Linked DNA regions of Homo sapiens: region 2 is linked to region 1. Evidence: promoter capture Hi-C in 16 types of primary human blood cells and fetal thymus (Javierre and others, 2016). All regions are on one chromosome and are shown on one strand. The core of a region is centred on a gene start or on the middle of the fragment in contact, and the rest is flanking DNA. Distances in the headings are between cores, read along the strand shown. Region 1 holds the start of RUSC2 (RUN and SH3 domain containing 2). Region 2 holds the start of SPATA31F3 (SPATA31 subfamily F member 3).

The links. Contacts are between HindIII fragments. The CHiCAGO score rates a contact against its expected background, and 5 or more counts as called.
Region 2: a contact is called between a fragment that was not itself captured here and the fragment with the promoter of RUSC2 in region 1, in 3 of 17 cell types (naive CD8 T cells, naive B cells and total B cells). The highest score is 8.0, in naive CD8 T cells.

What each region holds. Positions count from the first base shown.
Region 1 is chr9:35,484,956-35,491,565 of GRCh38, forward strand. It overlaps RUSC2 (RUN and SH3 domain containing 2), which reads left to right and starts at 5,156. Exons shown (of 12, transcript NM_014806.5): 1 at 5,156-5,217. LOC105376026 (a long non-coding RNA gene) reads right to left here. Exons shown (of 2, transcript XR_929580.4): 1 at 6,476-6,610; 2 at 6,164-6,301. RefSeq lists a silencer at 4,825-5,124. The HindIII fragment of the contact is 5,552 bases long and covers 4,366-6,610 here.
Region 2 is chr9:34,889,627-34,896,957 of GRCh38, forward strand. SPATA31F3 (SPATA31 subfamily F member 3) reads right to left here and starts at 6,138. Exons shown (of 5, transcript NM_001309427.2): 1 at 5,953-6,138; 2 at 5,413-5,458; 3 at 4,815-4,875; 4 at 3,420-3,526; 5 at 1-6. The coding sequence starts at 6,096. It also overlaps a transcript of PHF24 not described here. The HindIII fragment of the contact is 3,320 bases long and covers 2,659-5,978 here.

The DNA of each region.
Region 1 (6,610 bases), core at 3,906-6,405:
GTAGATCACCTGAGGTCAGAAGTACAAAACCAGCCTGGCCAACATGGTGAAACTGGGCGTGGTGGCGGGCTCCTGTAATCCCAGCTACTCGGGAGGCTGAGGCAGGAGAATCACTTGAACCCAGGAGGCAGAGGTTGCAGTGAGCCGAGATCACACCACTGCATTCCACCTGGGGTGACAGAGCAAGACTCCATCTCAAGAAAATAAAATCCAAACTCCCAAACACACATACAAGGCCCTTCCTAATCTTGCTGTTGCCTCCCTCCTACACTTTGCCCATGCTTAACTAATGCCCATACTACTTGAGTTTCCCTAAGGCATCATGCTTTCTTTGTTTTTTTTTTTTTTTTTGAGACAGAGTTTCACTCTTGTTGCCCAGGCTGGAGTGCAATGGTGTGATCTCGGCTCACTGCAACCTCCACCTCCCAGGTTCAAGCAGTTCTCCTGCCTCAGAGAGGCAAGTAGCTGGGATTACAGGCATGTGCCACCATGCCTGGCTAATTTTGTATTTTTAGTAGAGGTGGGCTTTTCACCATGTTGGTCAGGCTGGTTTCGAACTCCTGACCTCAGGTGATCCACCCACCTTTGCCTCCCAAAGTTCTGGGATTACAGGCATGACCCACCGTGCCCAGCCTCTTTGTTTGTTTGTTTTTGAGATGGAGTTACGCTCTTGTTACCCAGGCTGGAGTGCAATGGTGCAATCTGAGCTCACTGCAACCTCCACCTCCCGGGTTCAAGCGATTCTCCTGCCTCAACCTCCTGAGTAGCTGGGATTACAGGCACCTGCCAGCATGCCCAACTAATTTTTGTATTTTTAGTAGAGACGGGGTTTCACCATGTTGGCCAGGCTGATCTTGAACTCCTGATCTGAGGTGATGTGCCTGCCTTGGCCTCCCAAAGTGCTGGGATTACAGGTGTGAGACACCGCACCCGGCCAGCATCATGCTTTCTTATGTCTCTGTGTTTTCGTATATTCTTTGATTTGCAAGTGTCTGGAAAACTTAAGAAATACTTTGAAATGGGTGTCTTTTTAATGGAATGTTGGGTGCTGTTAAGAATCTTTGGGAATTATTTGATTATATTAGCGGTGAGAGCCTTTGATTTCCTTTGACTAGGTTCCTATTTTACAAGTAAGCTATTTTCTAACTCGTTGGAGTTAGAAGTTAACTTCAGAATACTGACAATAAATAATACAAAAGATTTTCTGCCCATAACAGTGCAAACGATTCCTGTTCTGGGTGATGCAAATAAATTTTGTCCATTAGAGAAAAGACATTTCTAAGTCAAATCTTCATTTGAACTGGTTTTAGTATCTTACTGGTTCCCTCATTAGTTAAATAAAAAATTTGAAATATGTTCATTGTATATTTGTATAAGGCTCTGCCAGGCTCAGTGGCTCATGTCTGTAATCCCAGCACTTTAAGAGGTGGAGGCGGGTGGATTGCTTGAGCTCAGGAGTTCAAGACCAGCCTGGGTAACATGGCAAAACCCTGTCTCTACCAAAAATGCAAAAAATATCTTTAGTCCCAGCTACTCTGGAGGCTGAGGTGGGAGGATCGCTGAAGCCCGGAAGTCGAGGCTGCAGTGAGCCATGATCGCACCACTGCACTCCAGCCTGGGTAACAGAGAACCTGTCTCAAAAAATAAAAAATAAAAATACTTGCATAAGGCTCATTATTTTACCTTTTTGAAAGTTATTCTTTAACACAAACAACAGGAAGTAACCCACACTCGCTGAAGCCAAAAATGAGATTCCTATGAATGGATAGAAGGATGCATCATGATCCTGGGGAAGGAATCCTGCTGGGCCTCAGAAAGAAGTGGAACCAGCTGCTGGAAGGTCCCAAGAACCTAGGGAGCAGTCTTTTTGTGTCTAGACTTGCTTCTCTGTGTGCAACTGATTGATCTTCTTTCTCAGCAAACTGGTTTTCAATGCTGCTCAGGCCAAATGGGCAAGTAGAAGATGACTACTGCATAGCTCCCAAATTACCCTTAAGTCCAATTTAAGTCTGAGCAGAGATGTAGCTCTTTGTCTCCCAATTCCAAATTCTTAGAGAAGTAATTCTAATTGGCCTGGTTTGGCTTAATTCCCCAACCCAGACTATTTAACTGGGGGATCACACTGTGCAAACATGCAATTCCTCATTGGTTCCCCACTGGCAATGCTAGCTCTCTCCATGTCACCCTTATTTAAGCCCTTAGAACTTTATTTCTAACATTCATATTTGATCTTGTCATTCCTGCCTCTGCAATAAAGCCCTTCAGTATCTCTCCCAACTCCTTAGTAGTCATAGGCGTTTCATCACCAAACCCTGACCAGCTCTCCTCAGCTGTCTCCGTTGCCTCCCACACTTCTCAATCACATTGGTCATTTTGCCCCTCAGTTCTTTTGCACATGCCAATTCTCTCTTTACCTCCCACTCATTCTTCAAAATTCAGCTCACACCACTTCTGTGAAGCCTGAAGACAAGCTACATATCCTGACATTTATCTGCTTCCTTGACTGTGACCCCAGTCTCTAACTCTTTCAGTGAGTATGGAACCTAGAACAGAGTCTTCTATTTTTTTTTTTGAGACAGAGTCTTGCTCTGTTGCCCAGGCTGGAGTGCAATGGCGCAATCTCAGCTCACTGCAACCTCCGCCTCCCAGGTTCAAGTGATTCTCCTTCCTCAGCCTCCCGAGTAGCTGGGATTACAGGCATGCGCCACCACACCCGGCTGATTTTTGTATTTTGAGTAGAGACGGGGTTTTACCATGCTAGTGGTCTCAAACTCCTGACCTCAGGTGATCCGCCCGCCTCAGCCTCCCAAAGTGCTGGGATTACAGGCGTGAGCCACCGCGTCTAGCCTAAGAGTCTTCTCAATGGGTGATATGGTTTTGTTAGTGGTGGAAGAGGTCTGAGTTACCCCAAGTTACCTGCAGCCTATCCTTATGGGTCTGTAGCAACTTTAGTCCTTGCTTCATCAGAAGAAAGAATTCGACTGTGGGGCAGAAAGCAGAAAAAGAGACCAAGGCAAGTTCCAGAGTAGGAATGGAAGTTTATTTAAAAAGGCCTTAGAACAGGAAAGAAAGGAAGGTGCGCTTGGAAGAAACCCAAGCGGGCACGTGAAGGTTAAAGAGAGAAGGTCAAGTGCCTAACCAAGATCCTAGGACTTTTACAGGCTGGCCTCTTTCCCATGATTCTTCCCTTAGAGTGGGCTTCCCGAATGCGCAGTGCTTTCCTTCCCGTTTTCCGGTGGAGGGTGCCCCCAGGAGATCATACGTCACCATTTTTGTCTCTTAACACGCATGCCCAGAAAGTTGCTTCTCCCTGAGGCCTGCATTCAATTAGCATTTTGATGTTAACATGTGTGGACCATCAGGAAATGGCCTCTCCCTGGCCCAGCCGAATTATCCTTTTTAAAGAAGCAATGAGGTAATTATGGAACTGTCACTGGTAGAGGGTCTGACTGCAAGTTGTCCAGGTTCTTGGCGTTTTGAACAAAGAATTGGACAAAACGCCCAGCAAAGCAAAGAAAGAATGAAGGAACAAAAGAAGGAAAGCAGGGATGTATTGAAAACGAAAGCACACTCCACAGTGTGGGAGCAGCCGGAGCAGCGGCTCAAGGGCCAGGAAACAGAATCTTCTTGGGTCCAAATACCCCCTAGAAGTTACCCGCCACTTCATGCTCACCTCATGTAAATGAATTCGTAGCCTGCAATCAGTCTGATTGGTTGCAGAAAGCAGCCAAGCAGAGGCTGAAGTGAAGTTACAAAGGTCGCACACCTGTGCAAACATCTGATTGGTTGCAAGAAGCAACCAATCAGAGGCTAGGGTGAAGTTACAAAGTTATACTTCTATGCAAAGTTAGACTCGGCTGCAGTCAGTCTAATTGGTTGCAGATAGCCAATTTCCCATCTGCTGGGCAGAAAAGTTGGGTGGGGGGTTTGTTACTTAGGTGTGGAAAGTTAGGGTTTTCCTTTCAATTTAGTTCCAGGAAGTTGGCATGAACCAGTCTTAGGTTCCCTGCCTCCAGTCCCTATTCTCCTGCCTCAGAACCATCACCCAACATCCCTAGTGGGTAGCAGGGGAGAACCCTCTCCTGCCCCGCTCATGCCTAACTACCTGTAACAGTTTGGCTGTGTCCCCACCCAAAATCTCATCTTGAATTGTAATTCCCATAATCCCCCTGTGTCAAGGGCGGGAACAGGTGGAGGTAATTGGATGATGGGGCTGGTTTCCCCTGCGCCCTTCTCGTGACAGTGAGTGAGTCCCACAAGATCTGATGATTTTATAAGCGTCTGGCATTTCCCTTGCCTGCACTCACTCTGTCCTGCCACCCTGCGAAAAGGATGGCTACTTCTTTGCCTTTTGCCATGATTATAAGCTTCCTGAGGCCTCGCCAACAATGCGGAACTGTGAGTCAGACCTCTTTCCTTCATAGTATTTCTTCATAGCAGTGTCAGAACGGACTAATACAGTGGGTTTCCCATAACATTTGCAGGACTGCCTGCCCCATCCCCCTCTGGCTGTAAACAGCAGGAGTCACACACAGGCATCTTCCATGTCCCCCACACATCCGGCCCTGAAGGGCAGGGGGCGCATGGGTTCTACGTTTCATCAGGGGTTCCGAACCCTGGCTATGCACTGGAGGCCAACCCCACCTCACCCCACCCCACTCCACCCCAGTGGTTCTGAGTCGGTCCAGTGTGAGGTCAGCCCTCCTTCTGTTGTTTGGTTAGTTTCCACACTAGGTTCTACTGGGAAGCCAGCGTTGAGAACCGCCGCCTCAGGCGAAGCTGGGACTCACACCCACCGGCCCTGGAGGCCCGCGGAAGGTTTCCCTGGGTTCCAGCACCCGGGAGCCGCGCGTCGCCAGGCACCACCCCGCGGGGGCGGGCGCGGGCCGCAGAAGATTGGGCCACGGCGGAAGCCTCTCCGCTCCCTTAGCGGGAAAGCTCTGCGCGTGACTCGGCTGCGCCCATCGCTGCGGGAGCCGGGGAGGGGGCGAGCACCTTAGGCCGGGCGGACCGAACCAACGCGCCGCCCGGAGGGGCGGCCTGAGGGCAACCCAGATCGGACCATCGCGCCACGCCGACAGGGGCCGGCCTTTCCAACCCGCCCGGAGGGAGGGGCCGCCGGCGCCTCTAGCCTGCAACGCGACCCCTGGAGGGCGAGACACGCCGCCGCCGCCGCCGCCGCCGGCGCGGAAGGACGAGGCTGAGGCGAGAAACGAGGTAGGAACGCCTCTCCGGAGGCGGGCAGGGTCCCACAGACCCACTGCCCCGCGTTCCAAGGTCTCCCTTAGGGGAGGGCCTGTCTTCCCACCTATGTGCCTTCAGCGCCTGCCCTTCCCTTCAGCCCTTCCCCCTCGGCTGCACCCGCCCTCTGCGTCCGCCCCGACCCCCTGGGCAGACCTCGTCCCCAGCCCTTCTGACCCTTGGCCTTCTCCTGACCCTTCAGCTCTGCGTCCACCGGACCTTCAAACACCCAGCACCCACCGTCCCTTTGGGCGCCACCCCAGATGCATCCCCAACCGTCTCCTCAAACTGCCCCCTTGGGGACACCCTCCCCCCACAAAACGACTCGCGCCCAGTAGTCACCTTGGTACCCCAAGTCCCTGTGACGGCTTTGGGGAAGCGTGGCCGCCCGGCACCCAGGCCGGCGACTGCAGCGGGGGCCTCCCTACTGCCAGTTCCCGGCCGGGTCCTCTGCTCCCTCCACCCTTTTAGCCCCTGCCTCCCTTTATTATCCGCCCGGCGCCGGCGTTGCTTCAGTCTCTGTCTCTCTGTCATCCAGTTTTACCTGGAGAAAACCTTTGGCTTGGCAGTAACCGTCCCCTACTACTGCACTCACTTGCCGCGAAGGGCACGGTGATCCTGTTGCCCACAGTTGGCTGTGGCCCTCCAGGCCGGCCCTGCGGACACGGGGAACTGTCCTGGGGGCAAGGACGGTACACTACTCATCTTTGTATCCCCGGTCCCCAGCACGGTGCCTGGCACATGGTAGTGTTGCTGGTGGAGGGTCTTCACTACCAGTTGTCCTTTGCGTTTTGAACAAGTAATTGAGCAGCGGAGGAATGAAACGCAGGAACAAGTAGATCTGAGTCAGGCAAGGATTACCACTATGTGAACAGTGTCCGTGATAAAGAACACAGGCCTTAAAAAAAAAAAAAAGGCGGAATTTACAAAGGACAAAGGGCCTGAAACCTGTTTTTATTTATTCCTAGGTGGGTGACCTGAGCAGATTTAGTTTCCTGGGGGTTTGGGTTCCACGCGGAAGCAGGTGGTATCGCTGAGGGATGAAACAATGGCTGGAAAGCTGTAGGAGTTGATAAGGTAGAAAGTAGTTACCTAATTAGTAGTGGCATTATTGTAACTGGGGCTCAAAGTATTAGCAAATAAAAGTAGTGACTGGATTTTCTTAGCCGGCTCCTTAGATATTAAGCAGTGGTGGATGGCTTAATGGAAGGAAGAGCAGATCCAAACAGTATACCTGGTATTCTGTTAGTTATGCCCGTCCTGCTGTATGGCCAGCCACTGTTTCTCTTCTGTTTTGAGCCAGGTTAGGATCCCTCTGATTTCTGTGCTGGTATTTAAGATTCCTTTTTGAAGCCACAGTTGCCTTAAC
Region 2 (7,331 bases), core at 3,069-5,568, 600 kb before region 1:
CTGGAGCTTCTGGAAGGATGATGCTCTTGTGAGTATGGACTGCCCTTACCAGACCCTGCAACTCTTAGCCCTAGAAAGTGTGGCCCTGCAAATTTTGACCCTGCAAATTTTGCCCTGTAAAACATGGCCCTGAACTATTTGACCCTGAAAACTTTGGATCTGAAAAAAATTTACCCCTTCAAATACTGTACTTGCAAAATTTTGGCCCAGCAAGTAATGGCCCAGTAAGTTGGCCCTTTAAGCTCTGGGCACTCCCGGTTTGGCATTCTCAGAAATCCTTGTTTGGATGAGGTTATTCGGCTTACTCTAACAGCTTTGCAAATTATTCTTATCTGGTCCTTTTGCCCCAAGTAATCCTGGAGGATGCTCTTGGAACTCAAGGTTATGGAGAAGCTGGTGAAACAGCAATAGCCAGTACTGAGAGGATGGAAATGGGGCTCCGCAGATCCAGACAGATCCTTGCTAGTCTCTGCTCAAGGCAACCATCTTAGCTAAACTAAAGTTTTACCTAAGAAAGATCCTGGAGATATATTTGGCAAGTTGTGAGCTCTGGAGTTCTGCTTAGAAGTGCCCCTACTCGCCCCTGAACCTTGGCAGAAAGGGTGTTCTCTCTGGCTGGGGAGAGCTCCAGTGCTGTCCAGACACCCCCTTCTCTGTGATTTCCAGCTGCTTTGAATGTCATCAAATGTCACTGGGTCAACTGTTTTCTCTGCTGGGGTAGGGACTTGTCCTCACTTTTGCAAAGACCTGGTCTAAGGGGCTTAGGGCCCTCCAGGCTGGGTTGTTCACTCTAGCCTCCAGCTGAACACAAAGTACCTGGGCCTCTGTCATGTCTCCACTGGGTGTGAGATCCCAGAATCCCAGTGGGCATGGGGTACTGCTATGGAACTAGATCACTTGTAGCTCTGCTGCACTGTCTTTAGTTCAACGGCAAGCTGTTCTTTCAGTCCAACCCCTTCTGGATCTGGGGCCCATGGGATGCCTGGTGGGATATGAAGTTTCTGGAGTAATGTTTTCCCTTGGTTTAGCAATCTTTAGACTCCTAAAGGATCCCTGTGTGGAGATATTCTTTGGGATGGTGAAAATTTGTTCCCTGGATTCCCTTGTTTTTATGGGACTTCCCAAATGTATCTCAAGGAATTTATTTTTCAGGTAGAAATTTAGTTTGGCCAAGATGGGTGCCTTGAGTGATTAGGGGCTGTGAGGATCTGTCTGCCTCTCTAGCGGTACCATCTCCATCAGCTTGTGTTTTAGTGCAGAACACTTGTACGTTATCTACACAAGCTTCATTGGTGTTTTGAAAGCATGGCCCAGGACTTACACATTGCTGTTCAGATGAGATTGAGTCAGAGGCTCTGATGGGCTCAATCTGTGATTGTGGATTCGTGAGTGATTGCCTGGGCCACAGCCCTGGAAAGAGCCACATAATAGAGAGCAGGCAGCCCTGACAGAAGGGCCAAAACTTGTCTCAAGTTTCTCAGTGGCTTCCTGGGACAGGGTCTGGGCAGCTCAGGATCATCAGTAACAGCATCTGGCAAGCCCTGTTGCTGCTGATCAAGGCCTGTCAGTATTCAGAGTGTCCTTTCCTGATCTGTGTAGGGGCTGATATGTGTCACTTCCAGGTCCAGGTGTTTGCTTTTCAGAGGACAGGGGCGCCAAGTTGCTTCCCAGGCCTTTGGAATACTGCAGAACCAGTGATTTGTAGTCCCAACAATGGCAGATATGGGCAGGGACAATGCCCTAGCAGATCTTCCCATATTTGTAATCTATGTGGCTCTGCAACATTACCTTGGCCTGAGGAAACAATTGCGGACTGGCCCTCCTGCCACAGTGGATCAGAGAAGGCCACTATTCCCACTAGCTTCTGGTGCTGCATGCTGGGAAGACCCACATAGGTCAGGGCTGTACTGCTCCAGGGCAGGGATTATTGGTCATCAGGTCACAGGATGAACTGGATAGACTGCTGGATCTTTTGGATCAGGTCCCAGCAATGACAAATCAACCCTCTGTTTCAATTGCTCCTGGAGGTGGAATCCTAGCAGCCTCTGGGCATGGTCTAGGAGAATGCTTCCTCCCTCTTGAGGACTGAAATGGACTTCCCCAATCAAAGAGTGTCCTGGATCTAGTGGGAAAGGCTGCAACATGTCTCAGGGCTTACATTGTATGATTTCCTGGATCTACAGAGATCTCTGGACAACAGCTGGCAAACTCCACTGAAGCTGGAGCTGCCTCTACAGCAGGTGCCACTCCAAGGCTTTCACTTAGCCTGAGTCAGATATAGGACATTGATCTGGATTTGTCAATGGTCAGATGGAGAATGTGGGGGAAAAGGTGGGGAAGGAGGGGAGATTTTAATTAGTACAGAGGTGAAGGAGAAATCATTGCAGAGAAAGGGCCAAAGCCTCCCCTGTTTTGGAGATTTCTAAAGTCAGACCAGGGATCTCTAAAGGCAGACAGTAATGTGCAGAAAAGAGAAACCACAGTAAGGTAGCTACAGATGTGGCACATTGAGGCCTCAGTGCATCCTCTAGGCAGTGGACAGAGGCCACTTAGAAGCTGAAAGAGAGGAGAGGGTAGAGCTAGAACCATGGGGTTTGGGATTTGTTCACAGTAATTTTTCTGCTCTGAGTCCATAGTGGATCCTTCAAAAACCCTGAAAGCTTAGGTGAACCAGCTAGCCTCCCATGAAACCCAGAGTCAAAGGGATGGAAGCTCATCTGTTCAGCAGAAGCCTTAGAGATAGCATTCAGAGTGAAAGAAATGGCTGTTTGTCTGTCTGTTTTCCATCCTTTGGAAAATTAGAAGTGGTGTGGTATAAGCTGCCCTGTACAGAACTCCTCCACAGATCTTGGGAGCCCTCAGTTGTGGGAATATGTGCAACAATATCCCACTTGTACTTGAAGATTCCTCAGGACTTTTTGGACATTGCAATAGCAGTTGGAAAGGAATGTAGGGTCATAGGCTGTTGTTGTAGGTTTGGGAGCTCTGGGTTCAGGGAAAGAAAGGGAATCTAGTATTCAAGGGCTGCTGACCTTGGTTCTCCAGGACAAATTTGGAGTTGTTTTTCGTCCTCTCCTGCTGGCTCAGAGGAATTCCAGGCTTCTCAAAGTTTGAAGACAGAGATCCCATGACCTGGGACACAGCTGGGACTTGAGATCTCTGTCCTCGCTGAAAGTGATCAGCCCAGGAATCTTGGACGCTGTCTGCACCAGCTGACCGGGCAGCTGACTGGGTTAAAGATTTCTGATCCATTAATTGTGACAGTGTTGGAGTTACAGATGCCAGTGAAAGCTCTTTGGATTTCGGGGAGCCCAGATCCTGACTATGCTTAAAAGACACACTAGATGTGGACAAAGCCTCTAGGCAAGAGGAGCCCTGTGATGGCCCCAGTGAAGTCAGGGAGATCTGGTTGTTCTCACCTGCCAGCAATTGCTTAATCTCCAGAGCCATAACATTGCAGATTTGGCAGCAGGGGTCTGCACACAGGATTCGCCGCACACTTCCTTCCTGAGGAAGCCAGCCCTGGCTGGGAAGAGAAACATGACAAACATTAATGATGGAGTGACATCTGCCTTCTCGGAAAAGTGTGGGCCGGGGTTGGCATTGTCCTTTCCCAGTCCTGAAAATCCTGGAGCCTACACTCTCTTGTTGTCTACCTCCCTGTTTTTCTTCCTAAGAAAATGCTATTTGGAGGCTGGACATAGTGGCTCATGCCTCTAATCCTAGCACTTTGGGAGGCTGAGGTGGATGGATCACCTGAGGTCAGGAGTTCGAGATCAGCCTGGCCAACATGGTGAAACCCCGTCTCTACTAAAAATACAAAAATTAGCCAGGCATGGTGGCGTATGCCTGTAGTCCCAGCTACTTGGGAGGCAGAGGTAGGAGAGTCCCTTGAACCTGGGAGACGGAGCTTGCAGTGAGCCGAGATTGTGCCGTTGTACTCCAGCCTGGGCAACAAGAGTGAAACTCTGTCTCAAAAAAAAAAAAGAAAAAAGAAAAGAAAAAGAAAAAGCCATTTGGCAAGGTGGGCTGGGCTGACGATCTAGAGCTTGTTGGGCAAGGCTTCAGACGACCCATGGGAGGGCGTGGCCCTCAGAGAAGGCTGGGAGCTGGGGTCAGTTCTCTGTTGACCTTGTTGAAAAGCTGAACTAGGAGAACGGAGCCAGGCGGTTAGCTGATGGGGCATCACCAGTTAGAACCCGGATCAGTCTCATTTGAGGCTAAGAAACCCAAAGCCCGGTATTTGGGCTTGAAGTTCATGTAGGACCTCTGCATTCTGAGAGCTATTTGGTATCCCTGCTGATATACTCAATATCTTTTGGGAATCAATCCTGTTCTCTAGAAATCTTAAGAAGAGGATAAGATGATAGGCTGCCATCTGAGGGCTGTCTCCCTAATGACAGAGCCAGAGGAGGTAATGTCAGCAGAATCCAGTCAGACTCAGAGGAGAGGGAATAAAGAGAATAAGACAGGGATGACTTCTTTACGCAAAATCCATTCCTCTTGACTGGATAGCTTGTCTCGTGGCTGAATGCAACCCTGTGTAGAGTCTTTTATGAATTATACACTAGTACAAGCCTGAATTCTAGAACTACTGTGACCCTAGCCCAAAGCAGAATTGGGTGACCCTTCCCTCCTGAGATGTCTGGCCCAGCCCCCCTGCCCTGGTAACTCTCTCAACTAGTGAACCAGCCTCCACTGTGTATGTCTCCCTCCCATCCATTTTCCCTCTTCTCATCTCTACCCCAAGCCAAGCTGAGAAATGATCACAGACCAGACTAGCAGCTGGGAGACTGCAAAGAAGAAGAGATTACCTTTTCATGAGAAACAGCAGCTTCCACAACTTCTCGGCTTCTTCCTGTGAAGTTCTCCTAGCTGAAGAAACAGAAGATAGTGAGTGTTATGTGGAACTGGAGAGGATTCAGGGACATCCTATAAGAAGCTGAAGGCCTTTTAATGAGAAGATACTGAAAACCCCAGAGTCAGAACACTAAGTCACATCTGTGTATAACTTAACCGTTTACGATGTGTTGTTCTGCACCTTGTCTCATTTGTCCTTCACCATCACACTGGGAGTGAGGAAGGATCATCACATGCCCATTTTATGGAGAACAAGACTGAGAGTTGAAGAGACTTCCACAGGTTTGTAAAACTAGTAAATGACAGAGTTGAGGACTTCTGCCCTAATTCCTCATTCTTTATTCTCAGGAGGATAAGATAGAGAATTTTTTAATGTGCCTAGGCTCTGATTTTCCACCCAAGGAAGTCTTCCATGAGAAATTGTCCCTGGGGGGTACTAGAGTCTGCAGTGGTTAGAGCACCTGCTGTTAGCAGCAGGGGTCATAGAGGGTCAGGATCCGTGGGAACCTCACTCACAGCAGAAGTGAATTAGAGGAGAGACTGGGACTTTACCTCTTGATGTTCTATCTCCAGACTTTTGTTGGACTCTTCGGTGACACTTAAAGACAAAAACATTAGAATGCAAAGCTGCTACACCATTTTTTCCCATATCTAAAATGAAACAAAACTCATAAACATTTCCTGGTCTTTTTCTGTGTTCCAATTTTATATACTCTTCTATCTTTCCTTTCTGTATTCTTTTTCACCCCAAGAGTTTTCTTATTTGCTTATTTCTGACTCACTTTCACGCTCTTCCATACTCCATGCCTCCCACCCCCATTCCTTTCATAAGTTCGGTGGGGACTTTAGGATGAGACGGGAGGAAAAGTGGAACAGATTAAAGGATGGATGGGTCCAGAAGTCAAAGGAGTTCAGCCATCAAATGGCCCTAAATAGCTGCCAACCAGAATAATCACCCAAATTGGGAGCTCTTCTGGTGTCCAGTGAGGAGACCCCTTTAAAAAGCAAGGGCTAAGAGTAACAAGAGAAAGCTCGGGGATAAAATCTTGTTTGAGGCACATCAATTTAGCCATGGTCATAGTGTTTCCCTACCCGGCAACAGCTCCTGTTAGGTACCAAGCTTAATTTTTGGCAGCTCTTTTTCACTTGCCAAATAATTAATGCAATAATGCAGATGGATCCATAGGTGTATAAGGGATATCCAACATCCCACAAAACAAAGGTAGGGCTCAACATGATCTAAACCTCACTAGCCATCCCTCTCCCTAGTCTTTCACTGTCTTAGAACCTAATACCTCCAGATTTTACACCTCGTCATTTCTGCCTCACAGAAGAGGGATCCAAATCACCAGACTGCATCACAAAGCCCTCCTGTTCCACAAGGCAGGGATAGCATCACAGACCTTTATTTGTTTTTAAAGAGGCTTACTATGGTGATTCAATGTTCAGATGAGGGTGTCTGGTGCTCTGTATGGGCTACAGAGCCTGGGGCAAAAGATGCCAAGGTCATGGGCAACATGTACCTTTTCATGTTCTCTCTACTCTCTATACTGTTATGGCTTAGCTCTCCCCTTTACTACAATGGCCTGACACCTATTCCTGACACCTAGTGTGCATATGACACCGAGTCTCTATGCACACTACATGCCCTATAAGAGAGACAGTGGATAGATCAGAGGAACTCCATGAACTACATCATCTGTACTGGGAAGATAACAACAACAACAAAAAATAGAGGATAGGGCAAGCATCATATTGTTAAATCTTGGAAACCGATTTTTAATGCCACCAGCAATGATATATGGTCAGTACTGAGAGGTTCAGAAAGAGGGCAGTGTGTGACATGTCAAGGAAAGGACAAAGCTGATGTTCTTTTAAATAACTTTCTGAGAGTTAAAGAAGGACTTCTCCCAATCTGCGTGGTCCAGCCTGAGATGGGTGAGCAGAGATTGTAAGCACTACCTTTCATGGAGGCAAATGAATGAGGCTCACTTCTGGAGCTCTGTACAAGGCTTGATTTTTCCAGAATTGCCTCTACAGATTTTATAGCATCTAGCCTATTCATGGAGATGAGTTATTGGCAAAACTTTCGATTAAGGTTCACAAACTTGTGGCTCTTTGGTTGAATCCACCGTGGTTGGAATGTTTGCCTAAAAGAGTGTTTTATGAAAATCTGAATTTGAATAACTTTAGGCAGAGCAGGATTTTTCCTCATTTAACCCCGGGATCTACCACTCCTTTGCCCACTGATTCTCACATTAATGTTAACTTCATGACCCCTATCAATATTATGGCATGTCCCCAACACCCTAGGATTTCTGAGTTTCCTTGAGAAGTTCTTGCCCTGATAAAAGTGGTTGGTCTTAGGCTCAAAATCTCTGAAAAGGGGCCAAGTGCGGCGGCTCACACCTGTAATCCCAGCACTTTGGGAAGCTGAGGCAGGCGGATCACCTGAGTCAGGAGTTCGAGAC